Regions from separate parts of the Homo sapiens genome. Here regions 1, 2, 3, 4, 6 and 7 are each linked to region 5. The links are contacts of gene promoters, found by promoter capture Hi-C in blood cells and fetal thymus (Javierre and others, 2016). All regions are on one chromosome and are shown on one strand. Each heading gives the region's core, a stretch centred on a gene start or on the middle of the fragment in contact. The rest is flanking DNA. Distances are from core to core; before and after follow the strand shown.

Region 1 (4,015 bases), core at 1,190-3,689, 470 kb before region 5:
TAAGCAGTGCGGACCCAAAGAGTGAGCGGTAGCAAGATTTATTGCACAGAACAGAAGAACAAAGCTTCCACAGCGTGACCGAGCGGGCTGCCACTGCTGGCTTGGGCAGCCTGCTTTTATTCTCTTATCTGGCCCCCACCCACATCCTGCTGATTGGTAGAGCCCAGTGGTCTGTTTTGACAGGGTGCTGATTGGTGCGTTTACAATCCCTGAGCTAGACACAAAGGTTCTCCACATCCCCACCAGATTAGCTAGATACGGAGTGTCCACACAAACGTTCTCCAAGGCCCCACCAGAGTAGCTAGATACAGAGTGTCGATTGGTGCATTCACAAACCCTGAGCTAGATACAGAGTGCCTATTGGTGTATTTACAATCCCTGAGCTAGACATAAAGGTTCTCCACGTCCCCACCAGACTCAGGAGCCCAGCTGGCTTCACCCGGTGGATCCCACACCGGGGCTGCAGGTAGAGCTGCCTGCCAGTCCCATGCTCTGCGCCCGCACTCCTCAGCGAGTCGTCCTCAGTGGTCGATGGGACTGGGCGCCGTGAAGCAGGGGGCGGCGCTCATCGGGGAGGCTCCGGCCGCACAGGAGCCCACGGAGAGGGTGGGAGGCTCAGGCATGGCGGGCTGCAGGTCCCGAGCCCTGCCCCGCGGGAAGGCAGCTAAGGCCCGGCGAGAAATCGAGCGCAGCGCCGGTGGGCTGGCACTGCTGGGGGGCCCAGTACACCCTCCGCAGCCGCTGGCCCGGGTGCTAAGCCCCTCATTGCCCCGGGCCGGCAGGGCCTGCCGGCTGCTCCGAGTGCGGAGCCCGCCAAGCCCACGCCTACCCGGAACTCCAGCTGGCCCGCAAGCGCCGCGCGCAGCCCCGGTTCCCGCCCGCGCCCCTCCCTCCCACACCTCCCTGCAAGCTGAGGGAGCCGGCTCCGGCCTTGGCCAGCCCAGCAAGGGGCTCCCACAGTGCAGCGGTGGGCTGAAGTGCTCCTCAAGTGCCACCAAAGTGGGAGCCCCGGCAGAGGAGGCGCCGAGAGCGAGCGAGGGCTGTGACGACTGCCAGCACGCTGTCACCTCTCAAAAGCAAGTCTGTTATTCAGAATTTCAATTAATTCCTCTGTCTTTAGTAAAGCACGTCCTCCCTTAGCCTTGCCTAGAGACTCTTACTCTGAATTCAGGCTCCTTTTGGTTCAGTAATGCCAGGCAATAAACTTCCAATCTTCAGTAGACATACAGGGTTGCCGTTTGGTTGTTCAAGGGGCTCCTTGTATATATTTTCTACTAATTCCCCAGTTTTCCCCCATATTGAACCCATACGGTATTAGTTTTTTATTGCTAAATAACAAATTACCTTAAGCTTTGTGGTTTAAAACAATGCACATTTGTTATCTCATAATTTCTGTATGCCAGGAGTGTAGGCATGGCTTGGGTAGGTGCTACGCTTCAGAGACTCACAAGGCTGCAGTGAAGGTGTTGGCTGTGGCTCTCATCTCCTCTGAGGCTCATCTGGGGAAGGATCTGCTTCTAGGCTCACATGGTTGCTGGCAGCATTCACTTCCTTGTGGGCCATCAACTGAGGGCCTGAGTTTCTTGATGGCTACTAGCCAGAGGTAGCCCTCAGTTTCTTGCTGTAAGGACTTTCCCGACATGGCACCTTGCTTTCTCAAAGCCAGCCATGAAAAGAGTCCCCTCTGGCAGACAGTTATTATAATCTTAGGCACATTCCATTCCATTCATGTAATCATGCATATACCATTACCTTTGCTGTATTGTATTGATTAGAGGCAAATCACAAGTCCTATCCACATTCAAAGAGAGGAGATCACACAAGAGCTTGAAGACCAGAACACGGGGATGATGGGAGCCACCATAGAGTCTGTGGTGCATAGGGTCTCTGATGCTTTAGCGTCCAGGGAACTATGGCCTAAGTTACTGAACATAGTCCAAACTTTGTAGACATTTCTCATCTATGCCTAGTTGCTCCCAATCATTTTTTATTCTATTAAATGTTTTTATTAATATAATTTTTACTGAGACTTTAGAGAAAGCAGAAACAAATACATCTGTTGAATATTACAAATGTACCTGAAAGTACCCTATTGAATTTTTAGGTAGCCTTTGTTAGTTTGAGAATTAAAACAAAAAAACTTCACATCTATGAGAAAAAAAATCAGATATATTACTTTTAATGTTTTATTGAGTTTTCTTAAAGAGCAACCTAATTTAGAATATTAATCAATGAGTTTTCAAGGCCACTTGATATATACATGCCAAAAAGTTTCCATTCAGAGAAACATCGGGTTAGATTTGTATTAATAGATTAATTTTTATGAAATTTCATACAAAATTTATAAGATTTATATTGAATGTGTTAATTTATGTGGAAATATTCATATGAAAGTAGCAATCTTAATTTACACTAAACTTATAAATACAGTTTGATGATTTGATTAGCTAAAAGCTAACATTTACTAAGAACATTGTGTGTGTCAGGTATTGGCTCATTTAAGTCTTCTGGTATCACAACTGTAGGAGCTAGGCACCTTTATTATCCCATTTAAGTGCTGATGAGGAAAACAAGGTACTTCACTCAAAGTCACACAGAAGGATAGGAGTTGAGCAGAAATTTGAAACCAGATTACTTGACACCAAAGCCTATAAATACAATGGTTAAACTATATTGCTTTCCCTGAAACTGGAAGTTGAGATTAAAAATGATGTCCTCCCTTCAGGGAGCTGATTTTCTAGTATGTCAATAAGTAAGTAATTTACTGACAATTGATATACAAAACAAAAATGCCCCAACAGAGCACGCATGAGATTTTACCGCAGCCCACAGGTGCATCAGAGAGGAAGTGCCACTTGAAATAAGATGTTACATTGACATAAATAAGCATTTAGTTTTACTAAGAAACAGAGATGATGAATCAGTGGTCTAACCACACTGAAATGGGCGGTGAAGAAGCATTTTCAGGTTTTGCAGCAATTTGTGTTAGGCTGGTTTGTCTTTGTCATTCTAGGGTTTTAAAAAACTTCATACAAATGGAATCACACAATCTCGTGATCATTTATGTTTGGCTTCTTTGCTTATCAGTAGGTTTCTGATATTTGTTTGTGTTTTTGCATGTGTAACGGGTATAGTGCTTCTTGTATGGATGCTGCAACATTTATCTATTTTATAGTTGATGGACATCTGATTCCAATTCAGGGCTATTATGAATAAAACTGCTATGAATATTGATTCCTGTCTTTGGGTGCACATACATGTTTGTTTCTATTAACGAGTGAGTGGAATTCCTGGTTCACAGAGTATGCTGATGTGCAGCTTTAGTAGAGATGACCAAATTAAGATGGTTATTAATTTGAACTTCCTTCAGGTTTATGAACATTTCAGTTGATCTAAATTCTCACCAACCTTTGGTATTCTCAGATTTTATTTCTGTTTATTTCTTTAAAAATTTTAGATATTCTAGTTGGTGTGTAGTGACTCCTTTAAGTTTTTTCATTTCTCTGATGACGAATTTGAGTGTTTTGATAAGCTTTTTTGCCATTTTGGTGTCCTTTTTCTGGGAAATCACTTCTGTAGTCTTTTTCTCACTTAAACATTTGTTGTTGCCTGTCTTTTTAAACCGATTCATGAGTTTGAAAACTCTCACTCTCCCATTCTTTGCTGAGAGACTTTGCGTGCACTTGGGGGCACACCCTGGACCCTCAGCAAGCAGTTCGCTGTGCTGTTCCTTCACTTCCTGCACAGGCTGAGCTTCGAGGTCAGCCAGAGGTGAGAGCTTAGGTTCTTCTCAGGTAACTCCTGAACCTGTTTACAGCCCTGTACATTCACACTGCACAGGCTGAGCTTCGAGGTCAGCCAGAGGTGAGAGCTTAGGTTCTTGTCAGGTAACTCCTGAACCTGTATACAGCCCTGGACATTCACACTGCCCTGTGCTTTTGCACAACCTTCAAGATTCCAAGAAATATGTTGGAGATTTTGAAGCCTACTATAGACATCTCATTTCCAGTTTTTT
Region 2 (3,862 bases), core at 168-2,667, 490 kb after region 5:
CCTAAGAGCCAAATACTGTCCTTCATTATTTCATCAAGAAAGAGAAACAGTCAGAAGACAATTTCCACGTTCTCATTAGCAAATCTACCCAGCTCCCTGTATTTACATTAGAATTTTCTTCTCTCCCATTACCCTGGGTAAGTGGTCCAAGTTCATATCTGAAACCAACAGCCTCTCTATTCTCATCAACTAGACACAGCATGTTAACGCTATCCCTTCACTATGTTTTCACCTTTTCTATCATTTCCATCCAAGCATATATACCCAGTGAAATAGCACCCATCCTTTTCAATTTTTTAAAATTTTGAAATAAGCACAAAGTTACAGAAAAGTTAAATGTAATTCTCAGATCCCATTCAAGTTTCACCATTTATCCCAATGATGCCCTTTATAGCAAAAACACCGTTTAGAATTATGCACTAAAGTAAGTTATATCTTTTTGTTTGGAGCAGTTTTTTTTAATTTATTTATTTGAGATGGAGTCTCACTCTGTCGCCAGGCTGGAGTGCAGTGGCGCGATCTCAGCTCACTGCAACCTCTGCCTCCCTGGTTCAAGCGATTCTCCTGCCTCAGCCTCGCAAGTAGCTGGGACTACAGGCATGTGCCACCACTCCCAGCTAATGTTTTGTATTTTTAGTACAGACGGGGTTTCATCATGTTGGCCAGGATGGTCTCAATCTCTTGACCTCGTGATCTACCCACCTCAGACTTCCAAAGTGCTGGGATTACAGGCATGAGCCACCACGTTGGTTTTCATGACCCTGATACTTCTTTAAAGATTACAAACCAGTTATTTTGTAAAATATCCCTCAACTTGGGTTATTGGTGTTCACTAATGATTAGATATTGTTTTTGCATCCCCAGGGGGATGTCACAAAAGTGACACTGCATTCTCCTCACTGCATCCTGTCAGGTGGCATATAGTTTCAATTTGTGCCATTACTGATAATGTTCACTTTGATAAGTGGTTAAGGTGGTATCTGCCACCAGAGTCCTCCACTGTAAGTTGACTCTTTCCTTCTTTGTAATTAATGAGTACTTTGTGAGGAAGTACTTACAAAGTGCATAAATATACTATTCGTTATCAAATTTTTCAATATATTGGTTTATTTATTTATATTTGTATGGACTCATGGTTTTCTATTTTTTTCAATGAGTTGTAATCTGTTACTATCATTACTGGCCAATGGGAACCCCTTCAAGCTGGCTCATATCCTATTGATGTGTTTCCAACATTCTTTGAGTACTTCTTCGCTTTCTGGCACAACAAGATGTTCCAGGCTCATATTATACTTTCTCTGTCCCAGCTCTGAAATCAGCCATTTCTCCAAAGGGAATTCTTTTTGTTTGAGAATGTTATTTAAAAACAAAAAATTGGGGGACAGGTATGCTCAATGCTGTTACTAAGATATCACGGCTTTCAGGACCTTTCAGTAGACAGAACCATGGAACACACACACACAATGTTACACATATATGTGTGTCTATGTATGTGTGTATATATATATGTGGGTTTATGGCAAACACACGTGCCTACCTTGATCTGCCCATTTAATGGCTTTAGAAGTTGTTGGTGAGGTAACGGGTAAGGGAGAGACCAGGGGTAACTCTGCATTGTAAAAAGCAAATCAAATCAAGCAAAAATCTTGCTCTGATCCCTTATCTTCTTCCAGCTACTACCCCATTTCTTTACAGACATACATACTAAAGAAAAACCAAACACCATGACCACCACTACAGAAACCTCAATGGGGAATATGTCTCCTCTTCCCGCCCTTTGCTGTTTCTTAAGTTCATTCTATTTAAACTTTTGTCTTCACCAAACCACTGACCTCCAAGTTACCAAATCTAATAATCAATTCTCAGCTTAATCTCTACTTATCAACAAGCATTTAACACATTTCTTTCTTGAAATACATTCTCCTTGGCTGCTCCTTCTCACTGTCCTTTGCTAGACAATCCTCATCTTCCTAATCTTTAATCGTTGGTGTGTCCCAGAACTTGATCCTAGGACCCTATTTCCACCTACACTCACTTTATAGTTAATATCATCCTGCCCCTACGGCTTTAAACATCCTGTTTTATAACTCCAAATCAGCCAGGAGCGGTGGCTCACGCCTGTAATCCCAGCACTTTGGGAGGCCAAGGCAGGTGGATCACAAAGTCAGGAGATTGAGACCATCCTGGCTAACACAGTGAAACCTCGTTTCTACTAAAAATACAAAAAATTAGCCAGGCGTGGTGGCGGGTGCCTGTAGTCCCAGCTACTCAGGAGGCTGAGGCAGGAGAATGGCATGAACCCAGGAGATGGAGCTTGCAGTGAGCCGAGATCGTGTCACTGCACTCCAGCCTGGGTGACAGAGTGAGACTCCATCTCAAAAAATAAATAAATAAATAAATAAATAAATAATTCCAAATAATTATTTGCAGTTCCATTTCTCCCCTTCAGACTCCCATTCACGCCTTTCCTGGGACCTGATGGACTTGATCCCTTGCTCCATTTAGGTCTCTTCTCAAATACAACTTAATGAACTCCCAAAAATGTTGTCAACCACTGTATCTAAGACTACACCTTCCATCCTCCAGCCACTTTCTACCTCTTCCCTCTGCTTTATTTCTTCTGCCTACTTAACACCTCCACTTGTACGTGAATTTAATATGAGAAAAAGACCTCCAAAGAATTTTCACCTTTCCCTCCAAACCCAATCTTTCTTCAGTATTCCCGTATTTGTTTAAATCAAAACTGCAGAGGTATTATTTACTCCTCATACAATATATTACCATTCCTCATACTCTTCACTCAATCCATCATGAAATGCCAACACCTCTATATGCTTAAAACATTTTCCAAATCTAACCATTTAATCAGACCTTCCACTGCCAGCTTCTCTAATACAACCCATGTTCATTTCTCTACTGAAAAGATTATAGCAGCTGTTCTCCCTGCTTTTATACTCTTACCTCCTGTGGTCTAGTCCCAACAAAACAGTCCAATAATCTCTTCAATGTTTCTTTTCTGTTGAGATCCCTTTACTGGCTTCTCATCACATTTACAGTAGGTCAAGTCTTTACAGTGGTCTACCAGCATGTCTGACCTCCCCTGAGATCTCACCTCATACCCTCTCCCCCTTCATTCACATCATCCCCATCACATGAGCCTCTCTTTAGTTTCCTAAGTAAGCTCGGCCATTTCTTCCTCAGAAACTGTTGAGTCACAAAAAAAGACTGACAGAAACAGCAATTAACGTGTATAAAGGATGAGAGTCTGCCAGAAAGACTGGATGACAAGAACAAAATGAATTAAAATTAAGTTCTACCACTTCTTGTCCATGTAAAATAAAAGTTGCTGATTTTTAAAAGTAATCAAATTCCTTCATTTGTGACAACAACAAAAAATATGGAAACCACTGCTTCCCTCAGGCTCTAGAGACAACTAAAGTAAGAACCGATTCCAAATATCTGTCACCTGGTAGATGCCACAATGTTGCTCCCTTCCCTCCATCATATAATTATTTTCTCAAAGACAACAAGCACATAGTAGCTCAGTGAATGATTCTACTTAATTTTCAAATCTATAGAACTATTTTCTTTAAAAATGGAAGTTATTCAGTCACTAATAAATCATGCTATATTATGTCCTTAGTGCATAAGGCAAATACCACTGGCCTATATATTCCTATTTTTTTTTTCTATTATGCCCAATAAATTTCATAGCGTTGTAATAGTAGAAAACGTTGGCGAAGACTTTTATATTTGATCTCAATAATTTTTACTATCCTAGAGATCCATCTATATATTTTTAAGAGAACACACTGACAACCTTGAAGTAGCTTAGTTATATGGATGAGAGCTTTAGGAATTT
Region 3 (4,132 bases), core at 500-2,999, 450 kb after region 5:
AACATCTTTTCATGTGCTCATTGGCCACTTGTATATCTTCTTTGAAGAAATGTACATTCAAATCCTTTACCATTTTTTTTTGATTGGGCAATTTGTCTTTTTATTGTGTAAGTACCCAGTATATAGTCCAGAAACTAAACCCTTATTAGATATATCATATGCAATATTTTCTTCCATTCTGTATGTTGTCTTTTCACTTTTGATAATGTCCTTTGAAGCATAATAGTTTCTAATTTTGACAGTTTTGTGTTTGATTGCTAGTGCTTTTGACGTGTGTCTAAGAAACCATTGCCCAACCAATATCACAAAGATTTACACTTAGGTTTTTCCTAAGAATTTCATAGTTTTAGTTCTTATATTCAGGACTTTGGTTCATTTTGAATTAGAGGTAAATGTCCAACTTCATTCTTTTGCACGTGAATATCCAATTGTCCCAGCATAATTTGTTAAAGACAATCTTTTTCTGCTCTTTATTATGATTAAAGATAGTCTTTTCAGCCTTATTATTACTAGAGATAATGTCTCACTTTGTGACCCAGGCTGGAGTGCAATGGTGTGATCAGAGCTCATTGCAGCCTCAAGCTCTGGACTCAAGGGATCCCCCTGCCTCAGCCTCCCAAGTAGCTGGGATTATAGACACGTGCCACAGCACCCAGCCCACACAATCTTGACTACTGTAGATTTGTAGTAAGTTTTAAAATCATTAAAACTTACAGGCGCGGTGGCTCACGCCTGTTATCCCAGCACTTTGGGAGGCTGAGGCGGGAGGATCATGAGGTCGGGAGATCGAGACCACAGTGAAACCCGTCTCTACTAAAAATACAAAAAATTAGCCAGGCGCGGTGACAGGCGCCTGTAGTCCCAGCTACTCGGGAGGCTGAGGAAGGAGAATGGCGTGAACCTGGGAGGCGGAGCTTGCAGTGAGCCGAGATGGCGCCACTGCACTCCAGCCTGGGCGACAGAACGAGACTCTGTCTCAAAAAAAAAAAAAAAAAAAAAAAAAAAAAAAAAAAAAAATCATTAAGTGTGATTCCTCCAACTTTGTTCTTTTTCAAGACTGTTTTGGCTATTCTGACTCCCTTGCGTTCTCATAAATTTTAGAATCACTTTGACCATTTCGGAAAAAAAAAAAGGCTGGAATTTTGATAGGGATTATGTTAAGGATGTAGATCAATTTGGGGCGTACCACTATCTTAACAATATTAAGTCATCCCAGTTAAGAAAACTATATGTCTTTCCATTCATTTAGGTCTTCTTTAGCTTCTTTCAAGGATACTTGGGATGTTTTGTAGTTTTTGGTGTACAAGTAACATTTGTTGATAATAAACTTTATAGTTCCATGGCCTTTAAAGGTTAAACCAGAATTTGTGTGTGATTTGGTGAGACCACAGAATGTTCTGTCTCCGAAAGAATCTGTCCTAGAACAGGTCGGGCAACAAATGCCTCCCAGTCCCAGAGACTAGCCAGAAATGCATTCTATGTGAAGCAGCATGGTGTAATATAAGGCCACTGTTGATCCTTCTCATACCTGGATAAGTAGACAGAATATAGGGCACTACGTTCTGTAGTTGTCTTGGTGTCAGAACCCAGCTCATTTTCCCCTGACAGACCACAAGGGATGATCTAAATTTCTCAGGTTGTCATGAATTGCAGGGACAAGAGAGTGTGTCCAAAGAATTCACATCCCTAACTTCCTATTAATATAAATACTTCTATTTATCCATCCTCCTACAGAGACCACTGCTCCCTAGGCACCCAAAATATGTCTGACTGAGATTCTAGTAAAAGTCCACAAAGATGCAGCCCCCAATATCACCTCTAAACCCTAAACTCAGGTGTAAAGATGCTAGTACATCTAGCACAGAACAGAGAGTTCTATGCCAAGGATCAATGAACTTCTTTTTGTGAGCAATCGATCTCACACACTATCTGAATATTTATAAACCCACAACCTGTCACTAGTTATGTCTTGCTGATACTGCCAAATCTTTATTGTCCGTCTGTTTGTAGATATCCTAAGGTCATACTTTTATGACCTTAGTTCAAGTGAGCCTGTCTCTATTTCCTAGTAAATGTTAACTCAGCAAATTAAGAATAATTTGTTTTAATGTTAGCCCCCAAAAAAGCAGACTTAGAAAAATGATTTTGGTGTGGGAGGGGAGATTATAATTGTAGTTATAAATCACATTAGGTTTACCTACACTCCTTTTTTTCTAATGCTGCAAAACTGGAATATTTTTCCAAATTATCCCCATTTTTGTAATAGGAAATCATTTCATAATAATTCATGGCTATTTTACCAACTTCATATTGCATGTGGAAACCAAGTTTAAGTGAAAAGGTGACATGCATAAGTCAGAAAATGAATCAGAGATCTAATCAGATGTGGGACCTTCCAATCATGAATCCATTAATTAGACTGTCCCTAAGTATGAAATATGGGTGAGGAAAAGAGACAGAGAGTGAAATCAAGGTCACTTGGGGTTATGGGAGCTGCTTGGGCTTCAAGAAAGAACGCAAACACAGCAGGTTCAACTCTCAGTGTCAGAAAGCCATGCCGTTCACACGCTGTAAATGAGGTAACCATCCCATGCCTTCTGTACCACTATGATCACACCTCCCTGTTACAGAAACAAAAAATGTAAGAACAGCAACCCTGCTGTCTATTTCTTGATCTCTTTGACAAATACACTATGAAATGCAGAGCATGCTTCACAAATGCCGTAGAATGCCCTATGTGTACAAGGGTGCTTTGAAAGCAACAACAAAAACCTAACTTCCAAATTTACTGGTGGGGGAATTAAGGCACAGAGTTCAGACACCTCCCAGCAGTTAATTAGCAGCTAAGCATTGTGTGTTGAATCTCCATCTGATGCTCTTCCCACTACACTTTCCCACCCTTCATAAGGCTGACTGGATATTCCATCTATTTTTTTCAGTTGAGTTTTGTAGGGATGAGAACCAGGAAGAAGATCCTGGCCCTTGCAATTCACAATGTGCATACACTGTCACAGTTTCTTCTGGAACTTTGGGATGCACATGTGTCCAGACTAGCCTCTGCCAATCTCTACCAGATACATGAAGGCTACAATATTTATATCCCAGCTGTGTTTTCATTGATGGAGCTTTAAGAATATTCTAATTAATACTCTGCTTCTTTTTTCTTCCTCAGCCAGAACTCACTCTGACTTATACTAAGATATCAGCCCCAAGGTAAGTTAAAGGAGCCAGGCCTTGAGCCCTGTGAGGAAAGACCACAGAAGTAGGAGTCAGGGAAGCCATGTGGTTTCACATCAGATGGGCTGGATTTGTGGAATCTGCGAATAAGTCTTATAGAATAAATCTCACCACAGGGAAGTCAGGATCAATTTTCAGCATTCCGTTTGCCTCTCTCCTCCTTCCTTAAGCCAAACCTGTTAATTCTACCACTAAACAAGTCCTTTCTTGCTGTTATAGCTTCTTACTGGCCAGAAGTGGTACTAAATTTGGGCCCAGGCTGAAGAGGTGTCAAAGAGCATGTAGGTGAGGGTCAACCAGGAGCTTTTCCTGTCTAAGTGAAGCCAGCCTGATCTGACTTAACAGAGACTTTGGAGAAGTTGATTTTAAGCCTTTTTTCACTGACACAAACTAGGGGTGACTTGACATACAATTGGTCCTGATAGCTGACTATTGTCAGAAAAAATAAGCACTTGAGATCAACTTCTCTAAACACCAAATTAGCACCTTTGGCAAATATTTTTCACCACTTATTTGGTAGCATAATATGAATATAACATAATACTGTCTCCTAAAGTTGTCCAACACAAACCCTGCATTCATCTCCCACAACACAGTACATCTGGTTAAATCATTCAATGTCTGAGTGTACAACTAAAACCAATCATTTCAAGGCTTTTTCCAGAAAGGCACCTGACTTCATATGTGGATATTACATGTTGATATGATTTGGCTCTGTGTTCCCACCCAGATCTCATCTCAAATTGTAATCCCCGTAATCCCCCCATGTCGAGGGAGGGACCGGGTGGGAGGTGATTGGATCATGGGGGCGGTTTCCACCATGCTGTTCTCGTGATAGGAATAAGTTCTCACGAGATCTGATGGTTTTATAAGGGGCTCTTCCCCCTTTGCTTCC
Region 4 (3,999 bases), core at 1,217-3,716, 430 kb after region 5:
AGACAGAAAATAGATCAGTGTTTACCAGTAGGAACAGGGAGAAGGTGTGACTTTGAAGGGGTAGCATGAGGGAGTTTCTTTATGGTGACAGACAATTCTGTATCTTGACTGTGGTGAAAATTACATGAGTCTATACATGTGATAAAATATCAAAGAACTATGCACAGAGAGGAAAAAGATAATGTGTGAATGCAAAAACTGAAATCCCAGGAAACTCTACATTCTAGTTCATTATACTGTGCCATTGTCAGTTTCATAATTTGGATAATTTACTACAGTTATTTAGATGTTCCCATTGGGAAAATTGGTAATTGTTACATTGGATTCTATACTATTTTTGCAACTACTTGTGAACCTTTAATCATTTCAAATTGAAAAGTAAAAATGAGTATTAGTTTTGCAGCAATTGAGTAATAAATTGCAGGTGATAATAAATACATACGAGAATATCAATTGTGAAACTAATAATTTCATAATCATTTTTTGGATTACAGTAGTGACAGTAAAAAAAAGAAAAATAATGGATTGGAAACCTTGAGGAGATTGAACCAACAGGACACAGTGGTTGTAGAAGGTAAGAAGGAGAAGGAGAAATCAAAGAAGAGGAGATGATGAGTTGTTCTGGACATTTTGATTTAAGATGCCAGTGTGACTTTTAAGTAGAATATTAGAAAAAAGCATTTGGTTGTACAGTTCTTAGGATTCATAAGGGAAGTCTGGACCAGAGATAAATATTTGGGAGTCATTAGATAATATTGAAAGCTTGAAAGTGAATAAGAGAGAAAGAGGAAAAAATGAACAAAAAGGAAAAAGAGAAGAGAGGAAAAGAGGGCCTAGGAAAGAATCCATGGAGTTCCAACGGATAAGGGCTACATGAAGGAAGAGGAATTGGGGTCCAGGGGGAAACTCAAAGAGGGCCTAAGAAGGAAAAACTAGAGAAGTAAAAGGGGAACCAAGAGTTTGTGCTGTTGTGGAAGCAAAGGAGAGGGGCATGGACAACAGCTGGGCTAAAATCTGATGACAGGTCAGGAAAACAATAAGTAGCAGATACAGGCAACATGGAGGTCACCCATCATAGAAAGAATAGCTATAGTGCAGTGGCCAGAGAGCAGGGTGGTTCTGGGAATGAATAGGTGGTGAGGATGTGGAGAAAATGTGTTTAGGGGGCTCTTCTATGATCTTTGCGACCTATATGAATGAGAGGACTGAAAAGAGGAGTTCAGAGAGAGATTTCACAGTTGATTTCTTTGGAAACTTAGGGCTCCAGCAAGATAAGAAAGGGAACTGGTAATACCCCAACATGCAGTAATCTCTCATTCTAAAAAAAACAAAGCAAAGTTTGGTATGGAGAGGCCTGTATCAGGCATAAATGTTTTACAAAGCCTAAACACACACACCCACACACACTGAAAAACAGAGAGATAGATTAATAGAACACATAAGTATCCCAGAAAAAGAGACACATATTTAGGACTTTAATATAAAGAAGTCAGCAAGAATCAAAATAAGCAGATGAGTGGTTCTCAAACCAGAGAGCACATTAGAATCTCCTAGGAGGCATTTTTAAAAAATATCAATCCTGATGTTCATTTCCCACTTGATATGGTTTGGCTGTGTCTCTACCCAAATCTCATCTTGAATTCCCATATGTTGTGGGAGGGACTCAGTGGGAGGTAATTGAATCATAGGGCCAGGTCTTTCCCATGCTGTTCTCATGATAATGAATAAGTCTCACAAGATCTGATGGCTTTATAAGGGGGAGTTTCCTTGCACAAGTTCTCTCTCTTTGCCTGCCACCATCCACGTAAGATGTGACTTGTTGCTCCTTGCCTTCCACCATGATTGGGAGGCCTCCCTAGTCACTTGGAACCGTAAGTCCATTAAACCTCTTTCTTTTGTAAATTGCCCAGTTTCATGTATGTCTTTATCAGCAGCGTGAAAATGGATTAATACAGTAAATTGGTACCAGGAGTAGGGTGCTACTGAAAAGACAGCCAAAAATGTGGAAGTGATTTTGGAACTGGGTAACAGGGAGAAGTTGGAACAGTTTGGAGGGCTCAGAAGAAGACAGGAAACTGTGGGAAAGTTTGAAATTCCCTAGAGACTTGTTGAATGACTTTGACCAAAAGGCCGATAATGATATGAACAATGAAATCCAGGCTGAAGTGGTCTCAGATGGAGATGAGAAACTTGTTGGGAACCAGAGCAAAAGTGACTCTTGTTATGTTTTAGCAAACAGACTGGTGGCATTTGCCCCTGCCCTAGAGATCTGTAGAACTTTGAACTTGAGGGAGATGATTTAGGGTATCTGACAAAGAAATTTCTCAGAAGCAAAGCATTCAAGAGGTGACTTGGGTGCTGTTAAAGGCATTCAGTTTTATAAGGGAAACAGAGCACAAAAGTTTGGAAAATTTGCAGCCTGACAATGTGATAGAATAGAAAATCCCATTTTCTGAGGAGAAATTCAAGCCAGCTGCAGAAATTTGCATAAGTAACAAGGAGCCAAATGTTAATCACCAAGACAATGAGGAAAATGTCTCCAGGGCATGTCAGAGACCTTTGAGGCAGCCCCTCTGATCACAGGCCCAGAGGTTTAGGAGGATAAAATGGTTTCATGGGCTGGGCCCAGGGTCCCTCTGCTATGTGCAATCTAGGGACTTGGTGCCCTGTGTCCCAGCTGCTCCAGCTGTGACTAAAAGGGCCAAGGTACAGCTTGGGCTGTTGCTTCAGAGAGTGAAAGCCCCAAGCCTTGGCAGCTTCCATGTGGTGTTGAGCCTGTGGGTACACAGAAGTCAAGAATTAAGGCTTGGGAACCTCTGCCTAGATTTCAGAGGCTGTATGGAAATGCCCAGATGCCTATGCAAAAGTTTCCTGCAGGGGCGGGGCCCTCATGGAGAACCTTTGCTAGGGCAGTGCAGAAGGGAAATGTGGGGTCGAGCCCCCACACAATGTCCCTATTGGGGCACCACCTAGTGGAGCTACGAGAAGAGGGTTACCATCCTCCAAAACCCAGAATGGTAGATCCACCAACAGCTTGCACCATGTGCCTGGGAAAGCTGCAGACACTCAACACCAGCCCATGAAAGCAGCCAGGAGTGGGGCTATACCCTGTCAAGCCTCAGCAGCAGAGCTGCCCAAGACCATGGGAACCCCCCTCTGGAATCACCATGACCTGGATGTGAGACATAGAGTCAAAGATCATTTTGGAGCTTTAAGATTTGACTGGTCTGCTGGATTTCAGACTTGTATGGGGCCTGTATCCCCTTTGTTTTGGCCAATTTCTCCCTGTGGAACAGCTGTATTTACACAATGTCTATATCCCCATTGTATCTAAGAAATAACTAACTTGCTTTTGATTTTACAGGCTTACAGGTGGAAGTGACTTGCTTTGTCTCAGATGAGATGTTGAACTGTGGACTTTTGAGTTAATGCTGAAATGAGTTAAGATTTTGGGGGACGGTTGGGAAGGCAATATTGGTTTTGAAATGTGAAGACATGAGATTCGGGAAGGGCCAGGAGTAAAATGATATGTTTTGGCTGTGTCCCCACCCAAATCTTATCTTGAATTCCCATGTGTTGTGGGAGGGACAAAGTGGGAGGTAATTGAAACATGGGGGCAGGTCTTTCCTGTGCTTGTGAGAGTGAATAAGTCTCACGAGATCTGATGGTTTTATAAAGGGGAGTTTCCCTGCACAAGACAGTTCTCTCTCTTTGCCTGCCATCATTCACATAAGATGTGACTTGCTCTGCCTTGTCTTCTGCCATGATTGTAAGGCCTCCCCAGCCACTCAGAACTGTAAGTCCATTAAACCTCTTTCTTTTGTAAATTGCCCAGTCTCAGGTATGTCTTTATCAGCAGCATAAAAACGGACTAATACACCACTCCTCTTAGAGATTATGATGATTATAAACCCCATAGATTATGACTTCAGATATCAGCTTCAATCAAGGAAATGCTTCCCAGGAGATACTAACATACAGCTGGGGTTGAGAAGTACT
Region 5 (4,042 bases), core at 1,297-3,796:
AACCCTAGCACTTTGGGAGGCCGAGACGGGCGAATCACCTGAGGTCAGGAGTTCGAGACCAGCCTGGCAGCATGGCAAAACCTCGTCTCTACTAAAAATACAAAAAAATTAGCTGGGCGCGGTGGCGGGCGCCTTGTAATCCCAGCTACTCAGGAGGACGAGGCCGGAGAAAATTGCTTGAATCCAGGAGGCAGAGGTTGCAGAGAGCCTAGATGGAGCCATTGCACTCCAGCCTGGGCGACAAGAGAGAAACTCCATATCAAATAAATAAATAAAATAAATAAAATCCATGAGTTATTTTATCACATTATATGTTTATAATTTTAAGTCTTACTTTCAAATTGAAAACAGTTTAATTTTCAGTCGCTCATGTTAGGTTTTTTTTTTTTTTTTTAGACAGAGTCTAGCTCTGTCGCCCAGGCTGGAATGCAGTGACACGATCTTGGCTCACTGCAAGCTCCCGCTACCACGCCCGGCTAATTTTTTTGTATTTTTAGTAGAGGCGGGGTTTCACGTGCTAGCCAGGATGGTCTCGATCTCCTGACCTCGTGATCCACCCACCTCCGCCTCCCAAAGTGCTGGGATTACAGTCGTGAGCCACTGCGCCCGGCCTCATTTTAGTTTTGATGCAAATATAGTTAAACCCTCCCGGGTTCTCCCTTCCGGGTTCAAGTGATTCTCCTGCCTCAGGCTCTCGAGTAGCTGGGGACTACAGGCGAGCGCCACCAGGCTCAGCTAATTTTTTCTGTATTATTAGTAGAGACGGGGTTTCACTCGTCTCATGTTGGCCAGGATGGTCTCTATCTCTTGACCTCGTGATCCACCCACCTTGGCCTCCCAAAGTGCTGGGATTACAAGCATGAGCCAACGCGCCCGGCCTATTTTTATTTATTTATTCTTTTTGAGACAGAGTCTTGCTCTCTCTCCCAGGCTGGAGTACAGTGGGCGATCTCAGCTCACTGCAGCCACTGCCTCCCGGATTCAAGCGATTCTCCTGCCTTAGCCTCCACAGTAGCTGAGACTGTAGGAGCGCGCCACCATGCCTTGTTAATTTTTGTTTTTTCTGTAGAGACAGGGTTTTGCCATGTTACCCAGGCTGGTCTTGAACTCCTGAGCTCAAGCGATCCTCGGCCTGGGCCTCCCAAAGTGCTGGGAGAACAGACGTGAGCCACCGCGCCTGGCCCCCTGTGGGTGTTTTTAAAATTAGAGACACTGAGACCCCGACTGAAGAAGATAGGCCACGGGGCTGCTGTTATCTAATATTTATCAGAACTCACCCGACTTGTATGGGCAACGCAGCCCCTTTTCACTGTTCTTTTTCTTTGCAAACTCCACAGTCCTCCCTGTCGCTGCCCTACAGTACTGGTTGGAAGGTCTTTCTTCTTTGACTCTAGGTGGGGAAATCCAGAACGAGGCTTCGCCTCACCTGCCCTAATGCCCAATCTTCTACTAGCATTCCAGGCAGCGCTTTCTAGTCACGTGAGGGATACCTAACCACTGGAACTAAATAAGATGTGGGGGAACAACTGAGGTCATCACCTAAATTGCTTGATACTCTCTTTTCCAGAAGACGAGCCCCCTTTCTGAGTTTATGGCAGAAAGTGAATCCCTCCCTCCCTCCCTTCCTTTCTTTTTCTGTAAGACGGTGTTTCGCTCTTGTTGCCCAGGCTGGAGTGCGACGCCGTGATCTCCGCTCGCCGCAACCTCCGCCTCCCGGGTTAGAGCGGTTCTCCTGCCTCAGCCTCCAGAGTAGCTGGGATTACAGCCATGCGCCACCACGCCCAGCTAATTTTGTATTTTTAGTAGAGACAGGGTTTCTCCATGTTGGTCAGGCTGGTCTCGAACTCCTGACCTCAGGTGATCCGCCCGCCTCGGCCTCCTGGGATTACAGGCGTGAGCCACCGCGCCCGGCTAGAAAGTGAATCATTTCTATATTTGATTGTACGTGAAGCCCTCGGTAGTCCTTACTGACATCATGTCTCCTTTAGACTTTGATTACACTCCGTGTCCTTCATCTGACTCCTCTCTTCAGATTCCTGAGTCACGCTCTGTTTATGTTGCTGTTCAGGAGCGAACTGCGGCACCGCCCAAACACTGTGACGCCAGCGCGGGAGGAGGGCCGCGGGAGGGGCAGCGGAACGCGCAGAGGGCACGGTGCAAGCACGGGACAGCTCTGCATTGGCCAAAGGGATCCCAGGAGGCCTGGCCCTCTTTTCTCCTGAGGCTGGATCCCAACCAGCAGGAAAAGGCTGGATTTTCGCCTTTTGTATTTGTTTTGGGGCCCAACCAAGAAAAACAGTGGAGGGGGAATAAAACATGTTTAAATCTTTTTTTTGTCTTAAAACCATCTTTAATTTCACAGTCACAAAATAAAACATAACTCGAATGTTTTGATGTTTGCAGTGACATCGATTGTGAAAAAGGTTAGCCAGAAAGGAAACGCAGTGAGACAGAGCGCTCGGCCACCCCCTGCCCTGGGCGCCTGGCGCATGGGGGGCGGGGCGGGGCTCGCGGGGTGACGTCACAGCCCGACGCGCCACCCAGCTGTTTTTGTGCTCCCAGCTCTAGCGAAAAGCCGCCGGTATTTCTCCATCTGGCTCTCCTCTACCTCCAGGCAGGCTCACCCGAGATCCCCGCCCCGAACCCCCCCTGCACACTCGGCCCAGCGCTGTTGCCCCCGGAGCGGACGTTTCTGCAGCTATTCTGAGCACACCTTGACGTCGGCTGAGGGAGCGGGACAGGGTCAGCGGCGAAGGAGGCAGGCCCCGCGCGGGGATCTCGGAAGCCCTGCGGTGCATCATGAAGTTCCAGTACAAGGAGGACCATCCCTTTGAGTATCGGAAAAAGGAAGGAGAAAAGATCCGGAAGAAATATCCGGACAGGGTCCCCGTGAGTGTAGAGGAGCGGAGGGGATGGGAGGGGAAGGGCCCGCGGGGGCGGGGGCGGGTAGTCGAGATGGCTTCCCTGGGGCGCCCAGGCGGCTCTGGAGAAGGGAGGTTCCGAGAATTACTTAATCCTGAACGCCCTTCAGTGCCAGAGCCAATGGACGTCCAGACTGTAGAGCTTTTAAAACCCCGTATGCCTGGGCCCCGAACCCCACTTCAGGGCTGACGGCGTTTTGGGGGCCGAGCCGCCGTCTTCAGTGACTCAGCAACCCACACACGGTCTCAGCAGCTGAGACCGTGTGTGGGTTGCGGTGCACAAAATAGGGCCCCTGTGGGCGAGACTGGTTAGATCGGGGCCATGGATTGGCTGCCTTTAAGAACGCAGGGACATTGTGCTGTGCGGTGAGGTTTGCGCAAACCCAGTCGATTTCTGCCTTGGCTGGTTCTCCTTTAATGAAGTTGACTTTGGCTCTCATATCATTGGTCTTGGGACGAAAAGGTTCAGAAGCTATTCAGTAATTTTCTTGCATTACAGGGGGTTAGGGGAGCACAAGACAGTCCTGGCCTGGAAAACAAGGTCACGTTCTCTGCCCAACAGCCCTCTTGCCTCATCGTTCTAGGCTCCGGGGCTTGTGTGGGGACAGCCAGCCTCCTCGTGTTGATTTCTGATCACCTGGTACCTGGTCGCGATAAGGCAGGACTGAGACGTTTTTTCTCCGTTTTGGACACCGGCTTAAGTAGTTAAAACTACCGCAGGCAGTGAGTAGGAACAGAAAAGTATTAGGTATCTTTCAGCATCCGGGCGTTTTCCCCATTACCCCCTCCCCCGCCCACTTGCCTGGTGTTTCTCTAATGCAGGCTGCGCAGCCGAATTGGAGGGCAGAATATGGCTTAAGTGGTAGGGGGACCAGCAGCTGTTGGATTTTGGAAATGGAGGAGCGGAGATTTTAAAATTGTGCTCTTTATCTTCAGGTAGGAACATTAGTATTACGTGTCACATAATGGTAAAATAATTGCTGTTATCTGATGTCTTTTCTTGACTCACAGCCACTCTGGGTTTCTTCTCTAATCCTTACCTAACGTTCGTGGTTTTATAGCTACCAGAAGCCACCAGGGCCTTAGCCCAGCAGTAGAAACCTCTTGTAACCCTTTTCCTT
Region 6 (3,897 bases), core at 1,275-3,774, 490 kb before region 5:
GTGGGCTATAATCACATCACTGCAGACAGCCTGGGTGAGAAAGAGTGAGATCCTGTCTCTAAAAATACAACCAAACTAAAAAGAGTTGGTTTGGGTTTGTGATTTGTTCTTGCTGTGATTATCCTCATTGTTTCACACACTTTAAATTCCTGTAATGACAGCTGGTGTTTAATCTGGAGATTTGTTTGCCAGAAAAATGTCTTCTTCATCCTGGGCATTTTAGTTTCCATTTTCACAGTGCCTTGGAGAAGATTACTTGGCACATTCTTATTTCTCTTCTGTCTCTCTTCCAGCAGCATTCTCTTTTACTCCTTTTCTGAAAATGTTATCTTGGTAGTGCAAGGCAGTGAGTGGAAGGGGTGATGGCTGTTCTCACTATGACTCAGTCTTAGGCACTGAGTGAGTGCCTGTAATGTTAGTGCCTGGCCTGCTCAGGTCTCTGCCCCTACCCTGGATATAGTCGTTGGTCCAGTGTGTATTCCTGCCCCTCTTACAGGAGCAGATTTTGTGTCTTGGCACTTTCTCCCACCTGCAACGATGTTCCCCCAGTTCCCTAAGGGCAGAGATGTTTGTTGCCCTTCTCCCCAGCACACACAGTAGGTCTTTTAGTTTATTGTGTAGATAGCAGATAGGGGAGAAGGTACTCTGTGGAATTTCATGCCACCTCTGTATTTTTTTTTTTTTTTTTGAGATGGAGTTTCGCTCTTGTTGCCCAGGCTGGAGTGCGGTGGCTGCGATTATGGCTCACTGCAACCTCCGCCTCCCAGGTTCAAGCGATTCTCCTGCCTTAGCCTCCCGAGTAGCTGGGATTACAGGCATCACCACCACACCCGGCTAATTTTGTATTTTTTAGTAGAGACGGGGTTTCTCCATGTTGGTCAGGCTGGTCTCGAACTCCCGACCTCAGGTCATCTGACCACGTTGGCCCCCCAAGTGCTGGGATTACAGGTGTGAGCCACCGCGCCCAGCCGCCACCTCTGTATTATCACTGTTTTCTCTCTCCAGGTCTGCATCACAATGGACATGAAGAATTTCTGCTTCTCTCCAGTCATTTCTGTGAGAGTCTGGTGGAGTTTGTAGAGAAATAGCCTGGGAGAGGTGGTGGGATTTTCTAATTTCTGCAGACCCCAGGAGCTTCACACTGTTCTGCCACCCTACACTTATCCCTAATCCATCTTTCAATTATCCTGGCTGAATTCTTACTGGTATCTGGTGTTGGATTTGTCTATCCTAAATAAGCAAGGATGTGTTTCCTCTCTCTCGCATGTGCCTGTCACCATAGATTTTGGCCAGCTGGTTGTTCTACAGAGTTCATTCTTCAATGGATTTGAAAATGTTGAGAAGTTAATTTGGCTATTTTCCATTATAGAAGGGGTAGCAGCATTTCTTTGAGATATCTGCAACATGGAAATGAAAGCCACACATCTCCCTTACTTCTTTTTATGCCTCTTTCCCTGCCCCTCTGCCCTCCTTCTCCTTTTTCCTTCATACTTCTTATTTTATTTGCCATATGATGACACTTGGATACCCTAGATGGACTAATAATCCTTTTTTTTTTCCATTTTAACTTTAACTTACTTGAGAACTTGAGAATAATCGCTAGAAAATGATTTTATATTTATTGGAGTAAATGTTCTTCTGTAACATATTTTATCTGTTTTTTACTTTTCTTTTTTGGGAGATGTTTAGAAAGGGACATGCTTATGCATAAATCATACACTAATTCCTTTTAGAGTCTTGTTTATTCTTGAAAGGGAACAATTGTGTCTGACTCATATATTTACTTAGGAATGATGTGAAGAGGTAAAGCTTAAACTGGAGGAAGTAAGTTTCCGTTAAAATGTGTTGTCTTAGATCACCGTTCTCCTAAATCTGGTTTACTGTTTGCTGAGAGACATGTTTTTCTGCATTTTCACATTTTTCCCTTTGACTGTGAGCAGGAGATATATGAGATTCTTAGTGAAGTCATTCATTGCGCAATGGCTCCAAGCTATTATTTATTGTTGATTCTTTAGACAACACTCTTTTTAGATGCTTTTTAGTTACTCCCTGCTTCCTCTTTCTTGTTCATTAAAATTTGCTCTAGAAGAACAAACAAAGGTCTCTTATCAATTCCTAATTCCATCCTTGATTTGGCTCATAGTTTGCTGCGCCTGACAGAGCCTTACAGTTTGACATTTGGGGTAACACTAGTTTCACTGAAGATATTAATAGTTTACTTCTCTTTTAGTTTTTCTTGGTGTGGATTTCTGTGACACTCAAGAGGGACTTTTTCCCTCAGATGTCTCAACAGCTGCCCTTTTCTAAGTTCTTTCAGATGGCGCATGTTCAACCAGGTTTGTAAAGCACTGCTAGCCACAGGGTTTGCAGAAACTGAGCTACTGACATAGCTTGTGATTCTAACATACTGAGCCCCATGAGAACCCTTATTTAATATTTGTAATTTAACATGTACATTGACCTTATCACTGAGAAGGTTTAAAATAGTGTCCAACCTCCATTCAGCAAAACTTCAATTTAAATTAAGGCAGAGTTAGCTAAATGTTAGCTATCCTCTGGAAATACTAAATCTAAGTAAGAGATACTGTTCTGCCTTCCCTTTCTCACAAAATCTTCCTTAATTTCAGCTGCTGTGATACCTGGCTACAGCCTTTATGAGCATTGCAATAAACATGTGTGCTGAGATCATATACTCAATTTCTTAAGTTTTAAAATGAAATCTGCTAAGAAGCAATGGTCCCTTGGAGAGAAGAGCTTGGTATAAAACATAAAATGAATTTCCCCTCCTCCTAGCCGGAAAAAAAAAAAACCTCAAAGGTAATCATGTAATTCAACAATTCATTCAACTAATATTTGTATAGTTAATAACACATGAAGTTGAAACTTCTTTTCACAGACTTTTGCCAAGTTTGTAGCACAAAAAATTCACTGCCAGTGTGGGGGATGCTGTCACCTCTAAATGTTAAATCTCACCATAGCAGTAATGTCTTGAATCACCATGAGATATGAATTGTTTATGGCACAGTCATTTTGACTTTTGTTCCAAGATTTCTTAGTTTCAGCAATCCAGTAACATTTTCCCTTATGCACCTTCCAGTCTTTGGCAGGACATGATTTATGGACAGTAGAAAAGTTGAAAGAAACTGGAAGAAAGGAAGATAAGCAATTAAAATCAATGTAAAACTGTATCCTAATAATGTATACTAATTGAAGGGTCTCAAATTTGGTTATATTATGTGCTAAGCTTTCTTTGAAAAAAGTATGTGCTTTGTTCCAGGGTACATTTGAAAAAAAATTAAAAGAATTGAAGTCATGTGTATATTCATTAATTCATTCACTCATCCATCCTTTTTCCATTTAATTTATCCTTTTAAAAATATATCATGTTTTCTATAAGCCAGGAAATGCACCAGACACTAGGATAAAACAATGAACATCCAAGCTTCAAGGAACTAAAAACTTTAAAGGAAGAATAGAAATTAGAAATTTTAATTAGTTGTCTACTAACACATCAGAAATGTTGGGAGTTTATATCACACTAGTATAGTTATTCACAAGCAAAATTTGTGCTATAGGCAGTCCCCCAAAATCAAATAGGTTCATCTCTATTATCACACAAAACGATCTTGACATCTAAAAATGTGCTCTTAACAGCTAGTTCTAATTTATAATATTTCCCAGCAAATTTAGATGATGATACAGGGTATTCTAGATATACCAATAATTTAGTATTCCTGTAAATAAATATTCTTTACACACAGAGACAGACAGACACACACACACACACACGCACGCACACACATGACCTGAAGCCATTGAAGAGTGAACAAAGCCAGACAGATTCTAGAGGGGAGATGACACTTCAAAGAAGGTATGGCAGGGCAAAAGTTTATCATT
Region 7 (4,310 bases), core at 1,170-3,669, 470 kb after region 5:
CCTTCAAGGTAAACATGATGTTTTCACAATGGGTAAAAAGAAACTTTTTTGGAAAGAACACCTGTTATGGGGTTTTAAGATGGGTTTTTGAACATATTACCATTTATTTATTTATTTATTTATTTATTTATTTATTTATGTATGTATGTATGTATTTTGAGACGGAGTCTTGCTCTGTTGCCAGGCTGGAGTGCAGTGGTGCAAACTTGGCTCACTGCAACCTCTGCCTCCCGGGTTCAAGCAATTCTCCTGCCTCAGCCTCCCGAGTAGCTGGGACTACAGGTGCGCGCCACCACACCCAGCTAATTTTGCTTTTGCTGAGGCGGATGGATCACGATGTCAGCCACCGTGCCCGGCCATTACCATTAATTTTAAATGTTTTGGTTGCTGAAATAAATTAGTCATTTATGAATTCTCTCATATTTACATACTTATAAAATTTAAAAGAAATTTCTAACCTCTTTAAATATTATACTTAAAATGACTACTTCCCATTTATTCTGAAAGCAATTTTTATGTAAAAATTTCTAGTTTACAGAAACTGATTTATACCAGGGTAGATGGAAATGTTCTATGGACATTTTAACAAAAACATTTAAATAATTGGGCAATGGGATGTGCGTATATGTGTATGTGTATTTATATATGTGTATATATATATAATAATAAATGATTTTTGCATATGTGTATACAAAAAATACGTGTAAGTGTACATAATAGTATGTACACACATACACATATATACACACATATATATACACGTATGTATGTATATATGGATATTACACACATATATGTAACTAGCTCTTATATGTGTGTATATATTACATGTGTGTATATATACACATATATACATGTAATATGTATATACACACATACGTGTATATATGTATGTGTGTGTATCTGTGTGTGTATGTATATATTTTATACATGTATAAGTGCTTTTTTTTCTATTTGGACCAGAATTTTTTTTTCAGCTGTTACAGTCATTGAAATCAAATACCATATCAAACTGAGCAAAGAAACAGATTTTCAAAACACATATCACAAAGTATTAAGACAATACCTTTTTATAAATAATGAAACATTTTAAATCACATTATTATTAAAATATCTGAGTATGAAGAAGTTTGTTACATTAACAAACATCTTCTGAAAATATTTGATCTTTATTTTTTGTGTGCTTTATAACATGTGCTATGAGTGTAGTCATACATATATGGAGATTATATATTAAAATGTCTATTGGGGTGTGTTTCCTTTTTTAAATTTTTTAAAAAATTGGAACAAATAATTAAAAGATCTATCTATCAATCGATCTATCCGTGGAGAGAGAAAGAAGTGGGGGTATTATGAGGAATCGGCTCACATGATTATGGAGGCTGGCAAGTCCCACAATCTGTCATCTGTGAGATGGAGACCTGGGAAAGCCAGGGGTATAATTCAGTCCAAGTTTGGAGGTCTGAGACTCAGAGGACCCTATGGTATAAATTCCAGTCCCAGGCCAGAGAAGATGAGATGAGATGCCCCAGTTCAAACAGTGAGGCAGGGAAAATGGGGCAAATTCCTCCTTCCTCTGCCTTTTGCTCTGTTCAGTCCCTCGGTGAATTAGATGATGCCCACACACACTGAGGAGGGCAATCTACCTTACTGAGTTCACACGATCAAATGCTAACCTCTTCCAAAACACTCTCACAAACACATTCAGAAATAATGTTTAATCTGGGCGCCCTGTCGCCAGTCAAGCTGACATATAAAATTAACCATCTCAAGTCTACACCGTGCCAACTTGGCACCCATACACATCTTCTAAACCATACTTTAATCTCCAAATAAAGAAAACAACAATGTCCTAATTCCACCTAACATGATACAATTACCCTGCATAAAACAAAAATTGGCAATTACCCTTTTCCCAAAAAAGGAGGTAAAGTCCTTGAGCAGTGTGTACTCTTCTCCTTGACATCCCTTGACTTAAATATTATGATATAAAATAAATATCAATCCTCTATATATGTGAGTTTCAAATCCACAGATTCAACCAATTGCAGATTGAAAGTATTCATTAAACAATGGATGATTGCATCTTTACTGAACATGTACAGACCTTTTCCCTGTCATTACTCCCTAAACAATAGGGGATACCAATTGTTTATATAGCATTTACATAGTATTAGGTGTTATAAGTAACCTAGAGATGATTTAAAGTATATGGGATGATGTACATAGGTCATATGCAAATACTATACCACTTTATATAAGGGACTTGAGCATCTGTGAATTTTGGTATCAGCAGGAGGTCCTGGAAGCAATCCTCCATGGATACCAAGGAACAACTGTACTTAAACACTATGGCTATACAATGAATATATCTTATGCTACATGATAAGGGAGTAAGAGAGGAAAGAAAACAAAGATGCACACAAACACAAATGTATTCATGGCAAAATAAGGAGGAAGTACTCATGATGATTACAGTCCTTATTTCTGTAAGCGGTCACGTGGTTGTAGCTGGTATTTGTAATACCGTCTTTCACTGCCTATTCCATGTTCCCTTTGCTTTTAGCAACACCTCAGCTGGTCATGATTCTTTATCAGGCGATGTGACCAAAACCTTCATTTCTGAAGGATCTGCTCCCTTAGTCCTCCTCCCTAGGCTGGGTTGTTATAGTTTCATTGACCTTAAACACAGAGCATGTAATCTAAGAGATGCCCTAAAGGATCTCCTGTATTCCAGACATGTTTTCTTCCTTATTTCCATTGCAAAGCAGTTGTCCCATTTTGCCTTAGGAGTCAGGATTTTCCCCTGCTAAGGTCAGTATTCACATGGGACACAGGAGAGGTCTATACATATAGCTCTTCTACAAACATTTTTTGCCACCAATTTTTCAGTCGTGTTCCTGCCAAATCCCTGAGCATCCAGTGAAACCATTGGCCACAGCCCATAAATCAGTATATAACCACATGTTTAGCCATTTTCTGTTACAAGCAAAGTAAACAATCAGGTGCACTTCTCAAAGTTCAGCCCATTGGGGGATTTCCCTTTACCACTGTCCTTCAGGGATGTTCCATAGTGGGGCTTTAGGGCTGCAGCTGTCTAATTTCAGGTAGTGCCTGCATATAGTGCAGAATCATCTGTAAACCAGACCTAAGTCTTCTCTTCCTCTGACCATTGATCACAGGGAGCTCCCAGTGAGGCTGTAAGTGTAGGCTGGGAGAGAGAAGGCAGTATAGCTGGAGTGGGCATTTGGGCCACTTTTCATGTAACCTACCTGTGCCTTTAGGCCTGCTCAGGCCTGATCATGTATATACCACTTCCATTTGATGATGGAGTAGTGCTGGCATACCCAATTTTATGGTTTGGGGAGCCAGATAACACCCAGTTCATGGTGGGTGGCTCAGGTCCAGTTAAATTAGTGACCCGTAATTAAGTAGTCAGTCTCTACTAGGCCCAGTAGCACACCAAGAGTTGTTTATCATAAGAATAGTAGTTATTTGTGGATGATGGGGCAGGGCCTTGCTCCAAAATCCTAAAGACTTGTCCTATGATTCACCTAAGGGAACCTGCCAAAGGCTCCAAACAGCATCCTTATCTGCCACTGATACTTCAAGCTCCATATGGCCCAAGTACCAGAGCAGCTTGCACAGCAGCCTGGACCTGTTGCAGAGCCTTGCCTTGTTCTGGGCCACACTCAAAACCCGCAACTTTTCAGTTCACTTGTAAATGGGCCAGAGTAACACACCCAAATAAGCAATATGTTCCTTCAAAATCCAAAGAGATCTACTAGGCACTGTGCCTCTGTCAGGGGCCAGATGCAACAACATATCCTTCACCTTAGAAGAGATATCTCAACATGACCCAAATCACTGCATCCTAGAAGTTTCACCAAGGGAGAAGATCCCTGAATTTCCATCAGATGTATTTCCCACCCTCTGACATATAAATTTCTTACCAATAAGTCCAGAATAGTTGCCACTTCATGCTCATGAGGTCCAATCAGCATAAGTCATCAATGTAATGAACCACTGTGATATCTTGAAGAAGAGAAAGTCAGTCAAGATCACTGAGAACTAAATTATAACATAGGTCTGGCAAGTTGACCCACTGATATGGTTTGGCTCTGTGTCCCCACCCAAATCTCATCTCAAATCATAATCCCCACAAGTCAAGGGAGGGACCTGATGGGAGGTGATTGGATCATACGGGCAGTTCCCCCCATGCTATTCTCATTATAGTAAGGTAGTTCTCATGAGATCTGATGGTTTAAAAGTGGTGCACTTTTCCCTGCCCCCTACTGCCATTTTAAGAT

Evidence for each region. Contacts are between HindIII fragments. The CHiCAGO score rates a contact against its expected background, and 5 or more counts as called.
Region 1: a fragment that was not itself captured here is called in contact with the fragment with the promoter of GABARAPL1 in region 5 in 1 of 17 cell types (neutrophils); the score reaches 7.2 in neutrophils.
Region 2: a fragment that was not itself captured here is called in contact with the fragment with the promoter of GABARAPL1 in region 5 in 3 of 17 cell types (naive CD8 T cells, total CD8 T cells and M0 macrophages); the score reaches 9.0 in naive CD8 T cells.
Region 3: a fragment that was not itself captured here is called in contact with the fragment with the promoter of GABARAPL1 in region 5 in 2 of 17 cell types (naive CD8 T cells and total CD8 T cells); the score reaches 9.2 in naive CD8 T cells.
Region 4: a contact is called between a fragment that was not itself captured here and the fragment with the promoter of GABARAPL1 in region 5, in 2 of 17 cell types (total CD8 T cells and naive CD8 T cells). The highest score is 7.8, in total CD8 T cells.
Region 6: a fragment that was not itself captured here is called in contact with the fragment with the promoter of GABARAPL1 in region 5 in 1 of 17 cell types (neutrophils); the score reaches 5.1 in neutrophils.
Region 7: a contact is called between a fragment that was not itself captured here and the fragment with the promoter of GABARAPL1 in region 5, in 2 of 17 cell types (total CD8 T cells and naive CD8 T cells). The highest score is 12.7, in total CD8 T cells.

What each region holds. Positions count from the first base shown.
Region 1 is chr12:9,739,070-9,743,084 of GRCh38, forward strand. No RefSeq gene overlaps it. Among named protein-coding and RNA genes, the nearest start is that of CLECL1, 8.0 kb to the left of the region's middle. RefSeq lists a cis regulatory region at 1,370-1,622. The HindIII fragment of the contact is 2,182 bases long and covers 1,349-3,530 here.
Region 2 is chr12:10,704,640-10,708,501 of GRCh38, forward strand. The region is part of intron 6 of YBX3 (Y-box binding protein 3); the gene reads right to left. Among named protein-coding and RNA genes, the nearest start is that of YBX3, 17 kb to the right of the region's middle. The HindIII fragment of the contact is 9,991 bases long and covers 1-3,862 here.
Region 3 is chr12:10,662,621-10,666,752 of GRCh38, forward strand. All of the region lies in intron 1 of STYK1 (serine/threonine/tyrosine kinase 1), which reads right to left. Among named protein-coding and RNA genes, the nearest start is that of STYK1, 9.4 kb to the right of the region's middle. The HindIII fragment of the contact is 6,775 bases long and covers 1-4,132 here.
Region 4 is chr12:10,644,145-10,648,143 of GRCh38, forward strand. All of the region lies in intron 1 of STYK1 (serine/threonine/tyrosine kinase 1), which reads right to left. Among named protein-coding and RNA genes, the nearest start is that of STYK1, 28 kb to the right of the region's middle. The HindIII fragment of the contact is 3,412 bases long and covers 761-3,999 here.
Region 5 is chr12:10,210,331-10,214,372 of GRCh38, forward strand. It overlaps GABARAPL1 (GABA type A receptor associated protein like 1), which reads left to right and starts at 2,547. Exons shown (of 4, transcript NM_031412.4): 1 at 2,547-2,889. The coding sequence starts at 2,800. GABARAPL1-AS1 (GABARAPL1 antisense RNA 1) reads right to left here. Exons shown (of 3, transcript NR_170310.1): 2 at 3,724-4,039; 3 at 3,319-3,632. RefSeq lists an enhancer at 1,784-2,326 and a silencer at 2,420-2,679. The HindIII fragment of the contact is 15,130 bases long and covers 1-4,042 here.
Region 6 is chr12:9,719,671-9,723,567 of GRCh38, forward strand. CLECL1 (C-type lectin like 1) reads right to left here. Exons shown (of 2, transcript NM_001441815.1): 2 at 2,822-3,143. The coding sequence ends at 2,956. Among named protein-coding and RNA genes, the nearest start is that of CLECL1, 11 kb to the right of the region's middle. RefSeq lists a silencer at 374-463. The HindIII fragment of the contact is 1,435 bases long and covers 1,808-3,242 here.
Region 7 is chr12:10,683,108-10,687,417 of GRCh38, forward strand. No RefSeq gene overlaps it. Among named protein-coding and RNA genes, the nearest start is that of STYK1, 11 kb to the left of the region's middle. The HindIII fragment of the contact is 5,756 bases long and covers 1-4,310 here.